Regions from separate parts of the Homo sapiens genome. Here region 1 is linked to region 2. The links are contacts of gene promoters, found by promoter capture Hi-C in human tissues and cell types (Jung and others, 2019). All regions are on one chromosome and are shown on one strand. Each heading gives the region's core, a stretch centred on a gene start or on the middle of the fragment in contact. The rest is flanking DNA. Distances are from core to core; before and after follow the strand shown. Region 1 overlaps PTPRD (protein tyrosine phosphatase receptor type D). Region 2 holds the start of PTPRD (protein tyrosine phosphatase receptor type D).

Region 1 (7,618 bases), core at 4,348-6,847, 540 kb after region 2:
CTGCCAATACATATTTTAGTTTAAAAAGCGTATTACCATTTCTTTTAATGAAATCCCTGCATACGTGGCCAACAGTGAATTTGCCATCTGGAAGAGTAAAGCCATCAGAATAGCTGCAATGGCACGCCCGTCTGGATCAGATCAGCCTAGATTAGACAGTCAGGCACAACCTTAACCTGGAAACATGGAGTTCGGAAGCTTGCCAGTACCATTTTTACCTTCCCAGAATGGGTATTTGAAATCAGCTTAGAGGGAGGGATAGCAATAAAAGAATTTGGTCTCTTAAGAGGACATTTTAAGTTTTAAAATACAGGTACACCCAGGTGTAAAGGACAAAGATCTGAAAGTTATGTGCACATAATTGTTTAAATTTCAACCCAAAAAAAAGAAAAAGAAAAAAAAGTTCTACTCATGTTAACGATTGAAAGTAGATTTAAGCTGGATAATGTTCAACCAGAAAAGTTTCAGAAGAAGGCAACCAGATGGTGAGGAGTCTGAAAACCATGTCTTATATTTAATGTTGTTAGGAGGAAATGTGTAGGGGGAAAACACTAAAACAATCTCTAAAATATTTGAAGAATTATCACCTGAAAGAGGAAGCAGACATTTCACAGAAGAAAGAATAGGAAACATTGAATATAAATTCCTAGGAGGCACATTTTGAAACAGCAATCAGAAGAGAACTGTGGAGATTTGTTATACAGGTTATTTTATGAAGTTGGTAAATAATGATTAACTCACTGTCTGAAAAGTGAAGGAGAGACTAGATGACCAAACACCCCCTGATTGGGATATTTAATGATGCCAACAATGAGTAGAGGGCTACATAGGATTATATGGGTGGGTTCTTTCTTTTTTTTTTTTTTTTTTTTTTTTAGATGGAGTCTTGGTCTGTCGCCCAGGCTGGAGTGCAGTGGCATGATCTTGGCTCACTACGAGCTCCACCTCCCAGGTTCAAGCAATTCTCCTTCCTCAGCCTCCTGAGTAGCTGGGATTATAGGGGCACACCACCACACCCAGCTAATTTTTTTTTTTTTTTTTTGGAAGAGATGGGGTTTCACCATGTTGGTTAGGCTGGTCTCGAACTTCTGACCTCGCAATCTGCCCACCTCAGCCTCCCAAAGTGCTGGGATTACATGCGTAAGCCACTGTGCCCGGCCCTAGGTGGGTTCTTTCTAACCCTGAGATCTATGATTTTGCATAATTATTGGTATAAGATATTTGATTATATTTAGAAATGTATGTATGTTTAAAGATTTTTTTTCTTTCTTATTTTGGAGTTACTAAGTTATTTTCTAATATTTCTCAGGGTCCTTGGAATTATTCCATCTCCAGCCACTTGTCTGTAGATAATTCATTCCAATCAAAATTGAGAATTTACATATATCAATTACTATTTTTAAAGTGTAGAGGAGATACAAATATGAATGTGGTGTCCACAAGTTACTTAGAGTATAGTAATACTAACATTATGGTAGGTGGATTACCAAAACCAGAATGAACAGAGAAGGCTATTTAAAAATGCCGATTCCACTGTGCAACCTTTTAAAAAAAAAAAAAGAGAGATCATGTCCTTTGCAGCAACATGGTTGGAGCTGAAGGCCATTATCCTAAGTGAACTAACTTGAGAACAGAAAAACAAATACCAAAGGTTCTTACTTATTAAGTGGGAGCTAAATATTGAGTACATATGGACACAAAGAAGGGAACAACAGACATGGGTGCCTACTTGAGAGAGGAGGAACGGAGGACGGTGAAGATTGAAAAATTACCTATTGGATACTATGCTTATTACCTGGATAGCAAAATAATCTGTACACCAAACCCCAGTGACATGCAACTTATCTGTATAATAAACCTGCACATATACCTCTGAACCTAAAAGTTAAAAAAAGTAATAAATACTCCAAACACAGTGTTTAAATACAGATTCTGAGCCCTAATCTAGCTCTAATTTTAGAATCTCTAGAGGTAAATTTGAAAAGTACATTTCTAAAAGCTTCACAAGTGAATCTTAAGCAAATGAATTTTGAGAACCACAAGTTAGGAAGCTAGAGTACATTTGCATGAATTACTGGAAATATGTGAAATCTCTGATACATTTTACAGAAAAGTAACATGTTTAGATGTGGATGTTAGGGATAATGGGAGAAAGGGGTGAGCAGGCAAAGGATGATAAAGTATTACAAAAAAAGCTACAGGTATTGCTAGGTTGATAATTCATTCACATAATTGTTACATAACATTTTATCAAGCACTATGTATAAGGAGTGGGAAATAAATAAAATGAACGTGAAGTTTTATTCGAACCACAATTTGTTTGGTGTCTGTAGTAAGTCTCCGGATGTAATGTGTTTTACCTTCAGCTATGGACATCAGATTTTGTTTTGCAAGGAAAAGGGAAATAATGTTGAAGTCAGGTTGTACATAGTGTGTACCAAGCTATATGGCTAAGCAATGAAAGAATCATTGGTGCTGCAACATCTACTCTACAAATACAGCAATGGTCTTGGTTTCAAATTGACCTTCATGTTCGTAGAGCACCATTAGCTGTAATGTGCGCTAGGTTTATTTAGCTGTGAGGAAGGATATAAGATTGGAAAGAGAGCATGTCAGCGTGATTTTCTCAAATACATTTTCCTCTGGAGTTCTTACTGCCATCTTGGCACTGCTCCCCAGGCAGCACAAGGGGCATGCTCAGTTTTAAGGGTTGGGACCCCATGAGTACATGATGGTCACTTCAGCCTAGGCAAGGCTCATATATGACAGCCCGTGAGAGGAGCTGACAGACCTGCTCAGGGGCCATGCTTTTTCCAAGAAGCACCAAACAGTGAGGTTAAGGCTTCTCATTTACTGCATGTTTTTATAGAGTTTTATCATATGGACCTTCAGGGTCTATATATCCATTCAGGGTCCTCCCAGTACAGATGCAGTCCTCCAGTCAGAGTTAATAAGCAATGATGCCTAGTAACACAGTTTCCTTTTCCTACATTTCCAAAGAAACAGAGCTGAGGAAGGTAAATCTGAGAAAATCTTCCCACAGAGATAAGGTTTACACCCGCTCTTAAACCTTTCTCCCCAGCTGGTTTTTGAGCAGTATAGGATGATGAGTACCGTGGTTCAAGAAGATAGCTTGCAGCATGTACGTGGAAGTACTGGAAATAAAACTGGAGATGAGGGAGATAGAGGCGGCAGGCAGTGCAAGACGTAGACCCTCAAACCTGCACTCAAGAAGCCAGAGGGCCACATACAGTACTTTAAATGACAAATAATGGGAATATGAAGATGTTGGCAGTGAAAATGGGAAGAGGGAATAGATCAGGTAACCATTATGGAGGTACTGAGGCCAGAATTTAATAACCTTTGTCAGGAACTCAAAATAGATTATTAGTTTAACTGATTCAGGGCGTACTCTGAGTAGAATATTTTTGCTACTCCATGGAAAGAAAACTGTGAGTGTGAAGACTTCTTTAAAGCATTTATGTAGAAGAAAATATATTCATAACATATCGTTATAGAAGATGAAGCAGATATCTTGGATAGATGCTTCTAGAAATGAAAAGAACCTCAGCCCTTGGTTATTTGAAAAATTAGTGTGTTTAAAATTTAAGGTAGACTCTAAAGCTTCAATTTTACAAAGATCCTGGAATTGTATGTCTAATATAATAACTCACTTTTATCCAGAGCACAACCAATTTTCCCCCTCCCCCCCAGAAAATGAGAGAAACAAAGATGAAAAAAATGATGTATTCATTGAGCAAATATATACTGAGTGCCTTCTATGCACAAAGTACTGTCTAGACACTTGTGATTTATCAGTGAACAAAACTGATTAAAATCCCCCATAATCATAACAATAAATACATGATGGATTAATATAAAATATTATTTATTTCATAAAATAATAAAGTATATAAATCAAATAAGTTATAAAAAGTTATATCAATAACAAGATGAGAAATACTGTGGAAAATGAATGAGCATGCCATAAAGTAAGTAAATTACTTTCATAGTTGGCTTAGATATGTTTTGAATCTGTTTTTTCACAATTATCCTGGAGACTATAAAAATAAAATGTGGAAAAAAGTAGATGTCAAATAATGTACTAAGTTTTTGCTTTGTAGTTAATAATAATTATGCACCTTCGGGGGGTCTCATTTTTAGCAAGTAGGTTTTCAGTAATAAAAATGAATGTAGGTTATTGCAAGTACTCAGCAAAAGATACAAGCCTTATTTCACTGTATTTTATTCGTTGACAGAAATGAATATAATCCACTGAAAATCTTCATGTGATGCCCATATCAATATTTGCATCAATAACTTATTACTCCATGAAATCCACACAGAATGAATTTATAAATTTGGGATTTATTCAAATTTTATTTTTCTCTCTCTTCCCCTATCTCCTCACTTATTGAAAGGAAAGGACACCTAAATCGTTTGACTAAGTAATATTTCTCAAAAACTTCTGGAGAAATAAAAATCTTTCATAAAGAGGTTTAGGGAAGCAATGCTTCCATCATTACTAGAGGCCTGAAATGGTGGCTATATTACAACATTTCAGATGGCTTCGGATTGATGCTATATATACTGTGTGTGCTTCAGCAGAGCTTATCATTTCCTTCCCACTACTCTGGTTTGGAAACATAAGCTGAATGCACAACATGTGCAGGAAGTTCACAGGAGCCCACTCTTTCCTCTAAATCAGAGCTGGTACAGAGGAATTTCTGAATAACCTCAAAAACTGGTGACATTAACTGCTATCCATGGGCTTTAGTGGGATCAGAGAAAGCATCATGAAATCAAGTGAAAATAGAATGTGTCTGTGCATTATTTTTTTCTGAAAAGAGCATCCAAAACATTAATCAGATCCTCTAATGTTCTCACACCTTTTAAAAATAATAAATACTACTCCTCTGTCAGCTTTAGAAGTTCCAGAGATCCAAACTGAGCCAATAACACCCTGAGTACATTGATGCATGATGAGGGACTGGAATAGAGCCATATTCTTTTATTTCTGTGTTTCTAGACATGGCAGTGGCTTTGGATTTGGTCTCACAAACTGCAAGCTATTTTGCATTGCTGTGGATATTATAGTTATCTAAACATTCTCAGGCCACTATAGGAGCCTGCAGAGATGAGAAATAAAGCCAACTGGCCCATGGTCTTAAATGGCACATAAGCAGGCCAATGAGAGGAGCCAAATATTGTATGATGCCATGATTCTATCCAGTAAACATCGGCAGAATTGAGTAGGCCATTTGAATAACTGAAATTGTGGTGGGTATCTGAAATACCTCCACGCAAATTCTGTGACAGCTTACACAAGGTAATGTTTCACCCTGGAGCATATTTATTTGGTGATTATAAGCATCACAGTATTTTATGTGCACTTTACCTCTTATCAAGAATACTTGAAATTTCTCTTTAATTCAATTTTCTAGCTATGCTGGTTTCAAAAGTTATGTCAGTCCATACAATTTATAAACTATTAATGTATATTTTAAGAAAATTAGTCACTTTTTGAAAAATCTTTCAAAAATTCTCAGAACCCAGTATAGTAGTTCACTCACAACAGGGAGTAGAGGATAAATGTGACATAATCTAGTTGAATAATCTGGCCCTTGTCAATAAGAGGCTTTTAGTTCCTCAACTATTGGCACATGTCAACGATGTAGAAATGAGTCATTGTCCAATGCATGCTGATGAGACCTCTTTCCTCATAGTAGGAAGACCACTGGACTCAAAGGCAAAGGAACTAGACAGGGGAACTAGTCACCAACCATCTTCCAACTGCCATCTTTCAGCTTTGGGATTTTTAGCAAATCAAATATTTCTTTCTCTTTTATTAACTAAAGTGCATGCTTACTGGGATTTATTTAATTTTTACCTAATGTTATTTCTTTATTCTACTATCACATCCAGAATACCGTTTTTCATTATCATGTCTCTGTAGGCTCCTCTTGGCTGTGACAGTGACAGACAACTTTATCAACTATAGTATAGTATTTATGTGAAATTTCCTTTGCTTTTAGTTTTAGAGACAACATTCATTTCCAAAGTTACTTATGGCAGCCCCTTCTGCTCACCCTACTCCCTTTAATGAGATTGTTTCCTGAATTTGTAATACAGAGTCTTATGTTACAGCCTGCATTCCATCCTGGTATCCCACAACTATATATATATCCCATTACAGTATCATAAGGTAAAGTTTCACTGCCCTAAAACCTTGTGGGCTTCATCTATTCAACGTTCTCCTCTCCACTAAACCCCATATAACCACTGATTTCTTTACTATCTCTATAGTTTTACCTGTCACCATTTTGGACTGGTTTGGCTCACTTAGCAAAATGTATTAATCGATATTTTGTATGGCTTAATAGCTCATTCATTTTAAGTTGAAGTATTCTACTCTATGGATATACCACAATTTGCTTGTCTATTCACCTACTGAAGGACATCTTGGTTGCTTCCAGTTTAAGGAAGTTATTAATAAAACTGCTATAAACATTTTATGTGGCTATATATTTTCAAATCAGTTTAGTAAATAACTAGAAAGTGATAATTGGATCGTATGATAAGACTTCATGTAGCTTTGCAGAAAACTACACAACTATCTTCCAAAGTGCACCAATCAGTGCTCTGTAAAAACGCCCCAATCAGCGCTATGTAGCTAGCAAGAGGATTGTAAAATGCACCAATCAGTGCTCTGTAAAATGCAACAATAAGCACGATCCTAAAAGCAGTCAATTGCAGGGAGGATTGGAAAAAGGGCACTCTGATAGGACAAAAATGGAACATGGGAGGGGACAAATAAGGTAATAAAAGCTGGCCACCCCAGCCAGCAGTGGCAACCCGCTCATGTCCCCTTCCATGCTGTGGAAGCTGTGTTCTTTCGACCTTCACAATAAATCTTGTTGCTGCTCTCTCTTTGGGTTCGTGCCATCTTGAAGAGCTATAACGCTCACTGCGAAGGTCCATGGCTCCATTCTTGAAGTCGGCAAGATCACGAACCCACTGGAAGGAACCAACTCTGGACACACTATATACTCACTGACAATTGACATGATCAGTTTTTTATTTTATTTTATTTTAGCTACTCTGCTAGATATGTAGTGATGGCTCATTGTTGCTTTAATTTGCATTCCTCTGATGCGAAATATTGAGCATATTTTCATATACTTAACTTGCCACCTATATCTTTTGCTTATGTTTTGAATGGCTTTATTTTCTTATTGATGAGTTTTAAGAATTATTGTATATTTCATATACAAGTATATTATTAGATATGTAATTTGCAAATATATTCTCCCAGTCTATGTTTAATCTTTTTCTTCTCTTTTACAGAGTATAATTAATTTTAATTAAGTAAACCTTACCAATTTTTTCATCATTTATACTATGTGTGCTAAGTAGCAAATACACAGGATCTCTTCATTTACAGAATATATAATTTAGTAGATAATAATTATTTTAAAAAAACGAAAAAAATTGAAGCAAGATACAGAAACATATCAACATATATCAGCTTGTTCATTTTATAATTCTCATAATTGTCAAGGTGTATGATTTCTGGTCATTGATTATCTCTGTTTTTTTTCCCTGAAACTAAGAATAT
Region 2 (7,627 bases), core at 469-2,968:
CATTATTGAACACTGACAGGAAGGAACTGAGACAGGAGTGAGTGGTGTGTATTTGTGCAGAAAGGGAGAAGGAGGGAGGGAGAGAGAGAGAATATGAGTCAGTCATCATCATCTTGGGGAGACAGCACCGTAAGAGGGGCAAGTGCTTTGTATAATTACAAAAATATGTACACATGCACACACACTTGCACATATGGTGTAATTTTTTTTCGTTCATATCTTGTCATTTCCAAGAACCTTTTTAAGTGATGATGACTGTTTGTGCATGGGAACCTTCTTGGATGGGTAGGCTCCGTGGCTTTAGGGAGGCTGAGCAGGGAACCCGGCAGCGCGTGGGTTCAGGAGAAGGGTCCCTTTTAAAGAGCAAAGGGACACAGCAAGCAGTGGAGAAGGTATGAAAAGAAAAAGGTGAAGGGACCCTGGGGAAAATTCCACCTATAGTGACTAAGCTTTATTTCTCTTCGGGAGAAAGTGACATTTCTGCGATTAGATCATTGACATATAAGGAAAGTAGATGGATAACTGGTTTTTCGTTGTTCTTTTTTTATTTGTTTTCTTCTACAGTGCTTACAGAACCTTTGACCAGATGGTACCTGGAATGCTCTGTGTTGCATATTACAAACAGGATAATTATTTTGGCTTTTTAGAAAACGCACCGACATGGTGACATTGCTCTCTGTTTATCAAGAGACAGAGCATTTGTTGCCTATAGCTGTATGCTCTGATGAGACATGAAAGATAGTAAAATGACAAAAAGCTTCCTGCTGTTTTTCTCTCATCCTGCCCCTTCTTCTCCCCCCAGCTCCAAACCTTATTTCTAGTTTCGCTGGGGGTCTAAGTTCCTCCTCCCCTGTCTCCCGAGTCTGTGGTACACCACATCTGATGCACTCCGATACCCCACTCTACCTTGGGGTAAGGAGGAGGTGGGGAAGAATCCGCTCCCTGCATCCATGTCCTCTCCTCTGCAGCGAGGCATATTCTCAGCAACTCTTGTACAGGTTTTCCCTTCTCAGCTACCACCTTGGCAGAGCTCTATCCCTCCCTCAAGCCCAGCCAGACTGCCAAGCGCCCCGACTGAAAACTCCATCCAGCTCAGCCGAAGTACACCCCCTCCGCCAAGCAACCCCTGTGCCCCTGCCCTTCACCTCCCTAAGTCTGCTCTTCATAAGCATCGATTCCATTGCAAATCAAATGTACGTCCCCCAGCTATTAACACCCACTACCCCTTAGGTGTTACCGACAGCCTCCCTCGGAAAATAATAATAATAATAATAACCGAAAGCACGCGAACACCTGAAGAAGCACAGATCGGGATCCGCATCTGGACCAGTCCTCTGTGGCTATAGTGATGGGGAATAGCCTGTGCCTGACATATCCTCCTGTTCCCGCGCGAACCGCTTTACCCTGGATCCCTGGAATCGTGCCTAGGCACCCGGGCGGCGGGGTCCGCCCAGGCCGCGTCAGGCAGCTCTGGGCCGGTGGGTGCCGGGTCTCCCCTCCTCCCGCCCCATCTGGCGCGCCCGCAGCGCCGCCGCCGCCGCCGCTTCTCTCCCCAGCGGGCGCTCGGAGCATCCCGCGCCGCGTTCTCCCCGCCCCGGCCCCCGCCCGCCGGAGCGGGGCCCACGCCGCTGGCAGCCATCAAGTGGCTCGTTAAGGAAATGCAGGTGAGTGCGTGAGGCCGAGCGGCAGCTGCTGGAGACGTGGGGTGTGTGCCTGTGAGTGCGAGCGAGACGAGGAGGGAGCGCCAGCGAGCGAGCGAGCGAGTGCGGGAGCGGCCGCCTCGGCTCCCCGCCCAGCCGCGCCCGCAGCCGGCGGCCGGAGCGCGTGGGGGCAGCGCCTCGCCCCGACAGAGCCTCGCCTCCTCCTTGCCGTCTCGGCTGCTTCTCCGAGGAGCCGGGAGCCGCTCATCGGCCTCCCCAACCCTGCGCTCCCCTCCCAGCCCGAGTCCTCCCGCTGCTCTTTCTCCTCCTCCTCCCGAGCCTCCTCCCCTCCGGCGCGGCGCCGCCAGCCAGCCTCGGCGGGGAGAGTGCAGGTACTTTGCCTTCAGAATAATTAGCAGGACCCAAGCCGGCTTTCCGAGCGCGCTTTCTTTTTCTTCCTTTGCCCCCTCCCTCCGGAAAAGAAGATCCCACTTTTGAAACAATCAGAAATCGAAGCACCCCACCAAAGCCAAACCCTGACGGGCTGCTGTGCATGTGCCATCCCTTTTTGCAGTTTATTCTGGGCCTGTGTGGAATAGAAAGACAATTCTTTATTTGACTGGTAGGAAAGAAAAGAGAAGACTCCTCAGGGTTTCCAAGGAGGACTGGAGCGGCTGCTTTAGTAAGTAAACTGTGCTTCTGTCTTTCTTTTCTCTAAAGTGAAGCATATGCTGATGCTTTTCAATGCCCAATGTCCAATGCTGTGGACAGTTTATTCATTTTACCTGGGAATAACTTGACTTATATAACTTCAGTAGCTCCTATTTGAGAAGTGGTTCGCTAAGCATTTTTTTCTTTTTTTTTTTTTTTTGGAAGAGCCCTTAGAAGACTTCGATATGGGATCAGTATGGGCAGCCTTACTGGAAAACTGATTTTTAAACGTTTATTGTTCAAGGGCTATTGGAAGCCTGCTTTGTTAAACATTGGTTGGTTCTAAGATTTAAGGGTGGTTATCTAGAAAAAGCTTGAAAAATCTAACCCTACTGGCTCACTTCTCCTGCCACCTTCAACCTCAGCCCTAATCCATGCTAACTCCCACCCTACTCTGACTTCAGTTGGTTGGTTGTTTTATCTTTAGTTCTGAAAAGCTCTAGAAAAAAAAAGGGGGGGGGGGCGGAAAAGGGAAAGTTAATAAGGATGGTTTGAAAGACCAGATGAAAATTCTGTTGCGATTTCTTCATGCCTGTAAGGAGATAATAATTGGAGGAAAATCCTGGAACTAGAATAGTTGGAGAATTAGAATGAACTTAATTTGGAGAGAGAATGTGAAAAATACTTTGGAGAGGGCAGGGCTGAGACTGTGACTTTGACACAGCGGGTTATAAACTCTGACAGGGCTCAGCAGCCAGTGACAGGTTTAAGGTGTCTCCTAAGGCTGAATATCTCTGCATCAAAAACTTTTGCAGGCAGTATTCCTCTTGGGGCTAACATCACCATGTCAGTAGCTGTAGCATTTCTTTTTACAGAAGTAGGACACTCTTCTTTCTACAAAAGGGTTAATAAGTTCATTATACATATATATAAAAAACATGTAGTCTAACATTTGCCAATATTTTGTAATATCTAAATAAAACCTTTGTGTTATGTCAGGAAAAATATAGTTGACTCAGTTTGTTTTGCACAAGAGGGAGAGAATCAATAACATTTCAGCATTTTTTTCTTTATCACTGCCAAATGGATTCTGAATCTAATTCTTCTTGCATTGTTACATATACAGTAGATACAGTAGGAGTTGCAACTTAGACAAAACAGACCTGATTTTTAACAAATCCTAAGTTTTTTGACATGGTAGTACTTATACTGACTAGAGTCTAATAGTGATTAGAAAAAGTTTATCCCTTTTATCTTTAACTGTTAATTTCTTTCTCAGTATAATACATACTTTTTAATAAAAACCCCTTATAAGTTAAAAACCAGATTGAAAAGTAAAAGTACTTATCTCAGAGAATTTCTTTCAATAAAGCAGCTTATTATTAATTATACCTAAGGGCTTCCTTGTATTTAATTGTTGATAATGGTAGAATGAGTATATTTTTACCTCCTTATTTACTTAAGTGAGTATATAAAAGCATCTGTATTCATGGGGGATTGGTTTTAGAAATTATAAGAGTAAGCTAAGTTACAATTATTACAAAAAAGTAGAGATGTTTTAGAGTTGTTTTGATTACTCAGTGTTGAAAGCTCTAAATATCTTGGGCCATAAGTTTTTAGGGTAATGAGACAGGACAATAGAACAGTTAATGAATTGGTTGACATGAAGTTATCATATATGGAATCATTTGAGAAAGATGTGTCATTGTTTCTTGATTATTATTTAATTTCTTATCCAAATGAGTTTTCTTAGACATATTACTGCTCTTAGCTAACATTTCTATTATTGGTTTAAAAATGAATTTAAGTGATTTAAAATGAAGCCCTTGGCTGATCAGATTTGGATTATAGCACATAACCTCTACTCATTTCTGACCTCACATGTCCGAGAGGCTATCTGATATTTGGAAAAAAAAAAACTTAATTATTGAAAAATAAAGGGGAAGATTGTACCTAAGTAGGGCAAATTTAACAGTGGTTCAAACATGTTATTACATATATTAGTATAGGACATATTTTACACAGTAGAGAAGACATGACAGATTTGTGCATTCTTTTTGAATTTCTGAAAGCAAATATTTGTAAGTAACATTAAAACTAACCTGACATACATTCTGCCTCTGTTGTAATTATGTCATAGTGCTAAGGAAAATAGCCTGAATGAAAGCTGTTTCTAGTAAAGCTTGCACATGCATTTGATCCCTGTCTCTATATAATAACAGATAAAAATGGCAAAGCAGGATGGGTGATTAAATTGTCACCTTTTTGGCCACCAGCTCTCTGTCCTGTACAGAGGTAGTTGCAACTTTAAAGTTGAGAAGAAAGTTGCTAGTGTCAGCAGTAATGTGTTTTATTATGCAATTGTTCTTGTTATTCAGATCAGATAATGGCCCGATGAAATACATAAGCAGTCTGCAGGGAATGAATGATTAATTCCTCTTACATGTGCTTACTAAAGGGGTTCTTTCTAATAAAGTGCTGTATACCTGCATTTGCTTTCAGTTGCTGTTGGTGAAGGCAAACATGTTTTTCTTTTCTTTTAATATTAACATAAAATTTACAAGCCTACTCTTGTAACTATAGCAACATAAAGATGATTTTGTTGACCACATGGTCTTATATTTTATGGAACTCAAGGCATGATTACTATTTACTAAATACACTTAATTTAGAAAGAAAACAATGCTAATTAGATGTGATATTGGAAGGTTGAGCTATTCATAACTTTTTTTGCTTTATTCTTTATGGAATGCCATGATATCTTTCCTGTGTATTACTAGTAGGATGCAGGAATCCAAATGTATGCAGGTGCAGAGTTCTGCAAATGCACATTTTTCTTTAATAATGCTGGAGAGTAAGTGAAAAGCTAAAATATTGCTAGTTATATCCAAGAATTAGCAGAATATTATGTTAAAATTTTAGGAATGACTAATAGTGCACATGACAATTATTGTGGTTACCACTGGTGTAAACTGTTCTGCAGTTAGAGAAGTGTGATTAATGTAACTTTACAATTCTAAAACTGGATTATGGTAGAGGGTGGTGAGTGAACAGAATTTATATAATAATTTGATAATAGGTGACCTGAAATGCATGTTACATGTTTGAAACTTACCTACTTAATGTCTTTTTAGAAAATTCTGAAAAAAATGTGATTTTCAAAATTACAGAATTAAATATATCTATCCATGTGTCTCTATTGATCTAGCTACTATCTATGTATGTCTCACATTTAATGCAGCAAATAACATTATTTCAAGTTCTCTCTGTTGTTTGGAGGAAACACTTTAATTTCAGTTACATATTTTTGGGCTTACACCTATCCTGAATTTAATAAACTTTAACAATGCAAATGATATGACAAATATTCAAGAATGCTAATTTAAAAGTTATAATGAAAATTAAATAAGTAGAATTTTGTACCCAGTTCAATGCCATTTGAACTTATCTTCTTATGTATTAAAGTGCAATTTCTTTACCACTACTGTCGGTTCACTGTTTTATTTTTTTAGGATTGTCAAAAGCATTTGGCATCCGTAAAGAATAAATAAATGTCTCCTGATACAGTCAAACAATGTAGACATTAACTGTACTTGTAACAAGCTTTTCAAAACTCTTAAAATTCACTGAATGAAGAAGAATTAATGAAGAATCAAAAAATGAACATTACCCGTTAGGAGAACACTGATGTGATTGTAGTAACAAAGGTTTTGAGTTTATCTTTCATCACTACAATTGGAAGTGTGACCCTAAGGAGGTAATCTGGACTCTCTGTACCTCTGTCAGGTAAATAAATTGGCTTAGCAATTTGAAAGTCTTTCAAGCTATGTGACTAATATACTGAATATAACTGAAGTTGCATTTTGCAAATTCTCAGATTATACTGTGGCAGTTTGAGAATCCTGTAGGAGTTAGGGGCAGCCATCTTGTTTGAAAGAGGGCTAAGGAAATTGTCCTGAAGTCAGGTCAGCAGTGCCTGGACACTCTTGTTACGTAGATTGAGATTGAATGTTTATTTGGAGTGTTTTTGAAGGAGCAGGATGGAGATTATGGAAGGGAAGAGGTGGACTCAAGTTTCTCTAAATGACCCTATGCTGCTGCCACTGAGAGCATATTACATGTATAATTATTTTTGGATTTTATTACTGTACCCAATATCAGAAGGATATGAGAAGAAAATAAGTAAAAGGGGATGCTTAGTGTCTTTGGTCTTCCTTTTTCCCACTCTGAAATCTCTATGTATGCTATTTTGCAGCATCACATTTGGATAAATATGCACAATTTAAATAAATATATATTATTCCTTACATACATGTAGACTGTAAGAGCTAGAAAGAACCATAGAAAAAATTATTTGAACCCTTGCATTTTAAAGAGGAAATTGAGAACTTCAAAAATAAAAGATATCAAAGTTGGTTGAATATCCCAGTTTCACAGAGAGGTTTTCCATCCTTGTTCAGTACCATCTCACATGCTATATTGCCAAGTAAATACACAGACAATAATTTTTACACCTCTAACTACATTATCAATAAAATAGTTTCATTGATCTTGTAGGATACAATACATTAACTTTAAAAAAATGTAATAACAAAACTTCCAATCATGGAAAATGAATACAAAGAAGGAATATATGCAATGTTAATTTTAAATGCTTGCTTTTCTTAAAGAAAACCAATAATTTATTTTTCATTATAATTCATGTGATATAACTGATGAAATTGGAAACTTTTTTTTTCTTCTAGGAAAATCAATATGACCAATTGTTTTCTATATGTGATAGGAATATTTGAGTTGCAGCAAGTAGATATGTATCTCTATGAAATGTACATTTTAAATCACTGAAGTCTGGGAGATCATGCTATACTTATTTTTTTAAATTGTAAAATATAGCCAATATAGCTGATTAATTGTAGAGACTTCAATTGCATTTTATTTTGTGTTTGCATGTGAGCATTTATGTATCTGTGTGTGTTTAAAAACATCTGTTCTCTTCAAAATAGGACTTAGTGAAAATGGTGTACTCAAAAGTTTAAAAGTGTATGTATAATAATCAAACAGTCAAAAAGAAATGACTTAGACTAGTATGTAACATAACAAATTGCTCTCTAATTAGTTCTTAAATCAAAGTTCAACAATACACCATATTACCAAAGCGTTGCCTTTAATAATGAGTCCATGTATTTTCTAAATACTATATTATAATAAGTAAATATTTTAAATTTGAAATAACCATGAAGCAAAAATATTTTACCTCTATATTCTCAAATACATTTACTTACATTAGATGCTAAAAAGGAAGAGAATAATTTCATATTCGATTATATACATTTCAC

Evidence for each region. The method cuts DNA at HindIII sites, captures the fragments that hold promoters and counts their contacts. A contact is called where the count stands out against the background at its distance.
Region 1: a fragment that was not itself captured here is called in contact with the fragment with the promoter of PTPRD in region 2 in 1 of the 25 tissues and cell types used here (dorsolateral prefrontal cortex).

Annotation. Positions count from the first base shown.
Region 1 is chr9:10,071,773-10,079,390 of GRCh38, reverse strand. The region is part of intron 3 of PTPRD (protein tyrosine phosphatase receptor type D); the gene reads left to right. Among named protein-coding and RNA genes, the nearest start is that of PTPRD, 540 kb to the left of the region's middle. The HindIII fragment of the contact is 5,569 bases long and covers 2,813-7,618 here.
Region 2 is chr9:10,607,093-10,614,719 of GRCh38, reverse strand. PTPRD (protein tyrosine phosphatase receptor type D) reads left to right here and starts at 1,718. Exons shown (of 46, transcript NM_002839.4): 1 at 1,718-2,032; 2 at 2,215-2,322. It overlaps PTPRD-DT (PTPRD divergent transcript), which reads right to left and starts at 1,514. Exons shown (of 3, transcript NR_110696.1): 1 at 1,294-1,514. RefSeq lists a silencer at 1,564-1,773. The HindIII fragment of the contact is 2,966 bases long and covers 604-3,569 here.